Linked DNA regions of Homo sapiens: region 2 is linked to region 1. Evidence: promoter capture Hi-C in 16 types of primary human blood cells and fetal thymus (Javierre and others, 2016). All regions are on one chromosome and are shown on one strand. Each heading gives the region's core, a stretch centred on a gene start or on the middle of the fragment in contact. The rest is flanking DNA. Distances are from core to core; before and after follow the strand shown.

Region 1 (3,242 bases), core at 318-2,817:
AGATAATGTCTACATTAAAAAAAACAACCCAACAAGGTAAGTTTAAGAATATTATTTAGAAATATGAAGATGAATCTTGAAGACACCACTAAAAAAGGTACATGAGCCCTGTGGACTTGGAGGGGGAAGTGGGAAAAGGAAGGCAGGACCTGCTATTTTTTTTCTTATAAATCTTTTGGTACTATTTGACTTTTTTTTTTTTTTTTTTTGAGATGGAGTCTCACTCTGTCGCCAGGCTGGAGTGCAGTGGCACAGTCTCGGCTCACTGCAACCTCTGCCTCCTGGGTTCAAGAAATTCTCCTGCCTCAGCCTCCAGAGTAGCTGAGATTACAGGCGCCGGCCACCACACCCAGCTTTCTAGTAGAGATGGGGTTTCACCATGTTGGCCAGGATGGTCTGGATCTCTTGACCTCGTGATCCGCCCGCCTCAGCCTCCCAAAGTGCTGGGATTACAGGCGTGAGCCACCGCATCCGGCCTATTTGACTTTTAAAACGTTGGTTATGTATTACTTTGATAAAAATTAACTTGAAACAAACAGACCAAACAATAAACATCGTTCTATACAAAACTTAGGTGAAACAGGATATCCAAATTAATCATTACAAGCCATGTTCCTGGGACAATTTTATATTTGAAGCCATATGGCCTTGGGTTCCGAATCCCAGCTCACCACTAACTGAAGCCCTGGCCAAGTGACCCAGCCTTTCTGGTTGCTGAAGGATTAAAGGGAAAAGCTTACTCCCCACACCCAACCATGCTGCCACTAAGTAAGCCTCAGTAGGGCTTACTGATCCTGTCATCATTATGGAGGAATGAATTTAGCAACTTGGGGTTCCTACTTATCACATGCTCTTACAGAACCCAAAGCTGTTTTAAGGCAAACATGATCAGAACTCTAATTCTTAAGTATTCAGCTGGAGCCAATCTTTAAGCATTCAACACACGTTGCATGGGGTAGGGGGAAGACACTAATTTGGACAGTTTCAAAAAAGAAATCAATGTTGGAGGCTGCCTGGCGACCTAGGATAAATGTAGTTTCACCACAGATGGCGAACAAGAAGTCTGGAGACCACCCCGAGCGCGAAGGGACCCCCGCGGAGTTTCCGAGAAGTCGTTAGCGCCTTCGGCCCTGGCTCCTCGAAAACTACAAATCCCAAAGGGCAGCGCGCCCCGATGCGGCGTCCCAGGGCCGAGGGGCCCGCCGGGAGCTGCAGTCTTTCCGGGCAGGACCCCGCACCCAAAGGCTCACCTGTGGGACCGCGTTGTCAGTCTCGGCGCCTGCGCTCCGCTCCAGGAAGAAAGCGCCAAGGCGAGGCATGGCGGTCTCCGTGCGCACCGGCAGCTTCTCGTGGGACATCAGGATGTCGTCCAAAGAAAGAAAGTTCTCCTCAGGCCCCAGCGCACCCGACTCCACTCGGAAATAAGCCTCTGACATGGCGGCCACTTGAGCTTCTCCGCTTCCACTCGCGTGATTCGGAGGAGCCTCAGGAGTTAGGGGTGTACAAGACGGGGAAGCGGAGACTGGGCAGGATGGTTGGGGTCAGGAAAGTGGATTGAAACTCGTTTCCCGCGCCCGGGGACGCATCAGACAGGAGCAGTCAATTCGGGCGGTACCGCCCAGGCAGAAGCAATCGATCAAGTCTGCAGATTTAGAGCAGCGGGACACGGCTGGGGAGCGGTAGGTGGGGGCGCCGGAAGTTCTCTTCCCTCCGCTTGCTGCACGGTGTGGGAACGTTACGAAGAAGCTGGAACGCTCGTTGAAGCTCCTGGACCCATTTGTACTGGATTGTGTTCATGTGATCCTTAACTATTTATATGAAATTAAAAACACTTTGCAACACTTTTAGGGGTTTAAAATAAAAGCATCTTGTGCCCTTCACTCCAGGCCTAAGTCCGACCCTTTCCTACAGTTTTTTTCACTATGCAACTCCGTTAATCTTAGTATTTGAAAGAAATGTTAAACAAACAAAAACTTCCAGCACTATCCCCAGCGAGTTATTATGGTCTAGATGATGAACTAGTGTGTTGTATTTTGTTAGTATTTTGGTGGGGGTTGGACGGGGTGGGTAGAGGGGTGGAGCACTAGACTGCACATGGCTTGCTAAGGTTGTGAGTATACTTCAGGGTGTCTTAGCTCATCATCAACTGACAATCTCCTTTTGTGGCTCTGAATTTAAATCCCTAAAAATGGAAATCCAATTGGTCCAGTTTATTGATTGGTCCAGGTACGCCACAATGGTCATAGATCTCCAGCCACCCTGTAGATGGGGGTGCCTGTGTTGGGTGCGATCACTATCCAGTGACCAGGGGAAGGACCATGGTCGCATAGTACCAGGTTTGGTGGCTCTCCTCAGCCAGGGCTATGGGTGGCGGCATATTGTTGAGAGATGCACTACAGAACTTACTTCGTCTAGAGCATTTCTGGGGCTACTGGAGCCGGGAGTAAAGGGTGTGTGTGAAGGGAGGTGTGTATTAACCATGGATTTTAGTTTCTGTTTTCTGTATTTTATGATGCTTTGACATCTTGGGGCCTTGGGGACCTGGGGAGGAATTGCCCCTTTCAGAGTTAGCTAATTCCTAGAGATAGCAAACAACTTGCTTGTGAACACCCCTTTCATTTACAAACCAACCAACCCAAGCCTATATCCCCACACCATCTTTATCCATCTCACACACCAATATTTTCCCTGCCCCAAGTCACTGTAATAAACCACCCCATGGCCAAGTACCAGACAACTAAAATTCACCTCTATATCCCAGAGCTTGCCAACATTATTCAAATTATTCAATCCTAAGCTTGTTCAGACTTCCCTTCCCTGCTTCGCCCATTCCTTCCCACGGCAATAAAGGCTCTGGGCTTTCTCCTCGCTCTCTCTACCTCCTCATTGACCCTAATACTTTCTCGTGTGGCCGTAGGCACAGCCCCTTCTCTTGAGAACTATAATAAAATTTTCAAAGGCATTGGCCACTAACTCATTGATTGTCATCACCCAGTCACCTTTATAAATGAAATTCTGAGGACAATGAAAACAAGGTGCAGTGGGGTGGAAAGGAATGGCCAAACTGTGGAAAATCTTGGTACCATTCTAAGGAGTTAGGCCATTCCATAGAAAATGGGAGGAAAATGTAAGGCAAATAATAACATAAATCTGGGCTTCAGGAAGAGAATTCCAGCAGTAGATAAAGAAGAGAGAGATTAGATGCTTGGAAGCTGTTCAGTGGGCAGTATTTGGCAACCAAT
Region 2 (3,223 bases), core at 510-3,009, 110 kb before region 1:
GGGAGGAGGAAAAGTGGAAGAGCCCAAGGCCCGGAGTCTGAAACCCTGTTCCCCTCTGCCCCTCACAGGGTGTGACCTTGTGCAGGAAATGACCTCCTTTGAGGCCCAATATCGTGCCCATCTACAAACCAGGGCAAGGGTGTTGTCTGCCTGCCTCCCTCAGGGGGCAGTGTGCAAGGGCCCCCACTGGGGTGTGCTGGGTCCCAGGGCTGCTGATCCCACCCGCACCTGTTGTACATGTTCCAGAAGAGCTGCAGGTTGGCCTGGTTCACCACGTTCCCAATCTGCTGCCGGTAGCTCTGCACCAACTCTGTGTTGTTCACCAGCTCCTCCTAGGCCCAGGGAGATGGATGGAGGCATGCAGAGGGGCAGACAGAGGGACGCAGGCTTAGAGGGGGCTGGCAGATGTCACTGCCAGAGTGGCCCTTGCCCCACTCAGCAGGCAGGGGAGACAGGGTGGGGGCAGGTAGGAGGTGTGGGGCCTTGGGAGGGGATGTCTGTCTTTCAGATGGCTTAGCATCTGGAGTGAGCCAGGTCAGATGCCAAAGACACCCGCCTGCCTCCTACCGAGCCAGCTGGGAGGGGCAAATCCCAGATCACCCCAGATCTGCAGAAGTTCCCCCCCTTACCTGGCTGAAGAGGTGGGAGAGCACCGTGTCGGGTAAAGTGCTAGTTAGGCCGGAGAGCTGCAGGGAGCAGGGCGCCAGCGTGAGTGCCGCCCCTCACCCCACCCTAGGTATACCCACCCCACCCCCGGTCACCACACACACCTTGGTGGCAGCCCAGTCTATCCAGCCTTTGCCATTGGGGTCGATGTTCACCAGCACCAGCCCCTCCACCAGGTCGGGGAAGATGAGCTGCAGTAAGAGGGGAAACAGGGCCGGGCGGGGCCAGGATGGGTGCAGATGGCAGAAACACTCTGTAAAGTCTTCAAGGTGCTGCTGATCAGCCACCCGGCTACAGCCGGGTCTGTGCATGCACACCCATGTCCAGATGCCCCTGCCTGTCCTCCTCTCACTGAACCCTTCACAGTTCTTGGATTTATTTAGAATCTCTATCATTGTTTCCACCCCTACACACACACAGACACACACACACACACACACACACGCTCTTTCAACAGAATCAGCTCTTAATATATTTTTGAAGTGCAAAATTGAGTATTAAACATCTTAAAATCTTAAGCATGTTGTTTTTTTGCTTTTATAGAGAATGAAGCCCTGGCCAGGCGCCGTGGCTCACGCCTGTAATCCCAGCACTTTGGGAGGCCAAGGCGGGCTGATCACCTGAGGTCAGGCATACGAGACCAGCCTAGCCAACATGGTGAAGCCCTGTCTCTAATAAAAATACAAAAATTAGCCAGGCGTGGTGGCATGCACCTGTAGTCTCAGCTACTTAGGAGGCTGAGGCAGGAGAATTGCTTGAACCAGGGAGGTGGAGGTTGCAGTGGGCCGAGATCATGCCACTGCACTCCAGCCTGGACGACAGAGCAAGACTCCATCTCAAAAAAAAAAAAAAAAAAAAAAAAAAGAAAATGAAGCCCTCATGATATAAATTAAGAAAAAAACAACCTTTTCAAAGTCTGTTTTGCCGTAGGCATTGCAAAAGAGGTATTTTCTTTTCAACTGTTAGACTGTGCTTAAAGAAAAACAGCATAACCACATCAAGCTTGTCTAGGGTGGCAGGGAATGGCCTCCAGTTAACAAAATGATTAAGTGCTGACATTGCAACTGGAGTTGAAAATTCTTGGTCATTTCTTTTGAAGTAGTAAATGTCTTCGATCGTGAAAAATTAGTCTTTTGGGTTTTTGTTTTTTTTTTTTTTGCTTGTTTTTAGAGATGAAAAGCTTGTGAATTCCTACCCAACAATGATTTTTTTTATTTTTTTATTTTTTTGAGACAGAGTCTCGCTCTGTTGCCCAGGCTGGAGTGCAGTGGCGCGATCTCAGCTCACTGCAAGCTCCGCCTCCCGGGTTCACGCCTTTCTCCTGCCTCAGCCTCCCGAGTAGCTGGGACTACAGGCGCCCGCCACTACGCCCGGCTAATTTTTTGTATTTTTAGTAGAGACTGGGTTTCACCGTGTTAGCCAGGATGGTCTTGATCTCCTGACCTCGTGATCTGCCCACCTTGGCCTCCCAAAGTGCTGGGATTACAGGTGTGAGCCACCGACAATGATGTTTTTGAAATGTGCCTTCTTTAAACCTCCCAACCATAATAAAATTTTTTGCTAAAAAAATTATTCATGTTGAAATACCATGGCAATTAGTGAAGGACGATCCTTATTTAGTGGCTAGAGCAGTTAGTTGTATAGTTTGTTGCTACTAGAAATTCTGGCTTTGGATAATAGTTTAAGCAAGTTATAGTTTCTAGTCTCTTGAGAAAACTATATGGAGAAAGGAACCTCTTTTTTAAAAAAGTTAATTTCCCTGGAGGAAAAAAGAAAAAAGAGGTTTTCTACATAAAGAGGAGGTGGGAGGAGGAGAAGCGAGAGCAGGGACACTTCCTCAAGGCTGAAGGGTTCCCCCCAGTCCCCACCACTGGGACATCCCTGGCTTGCCCTGGTGTTTGGGGTAATGGGGGCATGGGGAGACTCACTGCAAACTTGGCCAGCACATAGGCTCCGGCGCCCACTCCGATGCCAATCACATACTTGAACCTGGTGCAGAGCAGGCTGGTCACTCTAGGGCTAGGGGTGCCATTTCCCATACATGTCATCCAGAGCAGGCCCTGCCCATAGCCTGAAGCCCTCAGCTGGAGCCAGGTGGCTCTGCAGTTGGGGTAGGCACCCCTGGGCCCTAGCGCAGGGGCTGTGCGGGGACTCACCCGAAATGCTGCACCACGCTGGGGAGCATGGCAGCCAGCTGCTCCATGGAGGGGAACTGGTACCTGCAGGCAGAGCAGGAGGTCAGGGCCCAGGTGTGGCCTCAGGTGCAGAGCTGGAGACAGGCAGAGGGGGCTCAGGGTACCTACCCCTGAGGAAACTGCGACGCCCCCACCTGTTGTCCAGGGGCATCCACGTGACACACCACAAAGTGCTTGGTGATCTCCTGCATGTCCTCGAAGTTGAAGAAGGTGTTGAAGCATAGTTTGTCTGCAAAGACACACTTCCACTATGGCTGAGCAGAGGGGCCGGGGGACTGGAAGGAAGGCCGGGCCCCCAGAGGGCAGGCAAGGCAGAAGTGTAAGCCTCGGGTCCGTCGGGGAAATGGAGGCCCGGAGGGCGA

Evidence for each region. Contacts are between HindIII fragments. The CHiCAGO score rates a contact against its expected background, and 5 or more counts as called.
Region 2: a contact is called between a fragment that was not itself captured here and the fragment with the promoter of GINS3 in region 1, in 2 of 17 cell types (naive CD4 T cells and total CD8 T cells). The highest score is 5.5, in naive CD4 T cells.

Annotation. Positions count from the first base shown.
Region 1 is chr16:58,390,796-58,394,037 of GRCh38, reverse strand. GINS3 (GINS complex subunit 3) reads right to left here and starts at 1,567. Exons shown (of 3, transcript NM_022770.4): 1 at 1,251-1,567. The coding sequence starts at 1,436. RefSeq lists enhancers at 774-1,350, 1,255-1,744, 1,351-1,928. The HindIII fragment of the contact is 2,062 bases long and covers 738-2,799 here.
Region 2 is chr16:58,504,021-58,507,243 of GRCh38, reverse strand. It overlaps NDRG4 (NDRG family member 4), which reads right to left. Exons shown (of 15, transcript NM_001242835.2): 3 at 2,970-3,090; 4 at 2,823-2,885; 5 at 2,595-2,655; 6 at 771-857; 7 at 630-686; 8 at 229-332. Among named protein-coding and RNA genes, the nearest start is that of NDRG4, 5.5 kb to the right of the region's middle. The HindIII fragment of the contact is 178 bases long and covers 1,671-1,848 here.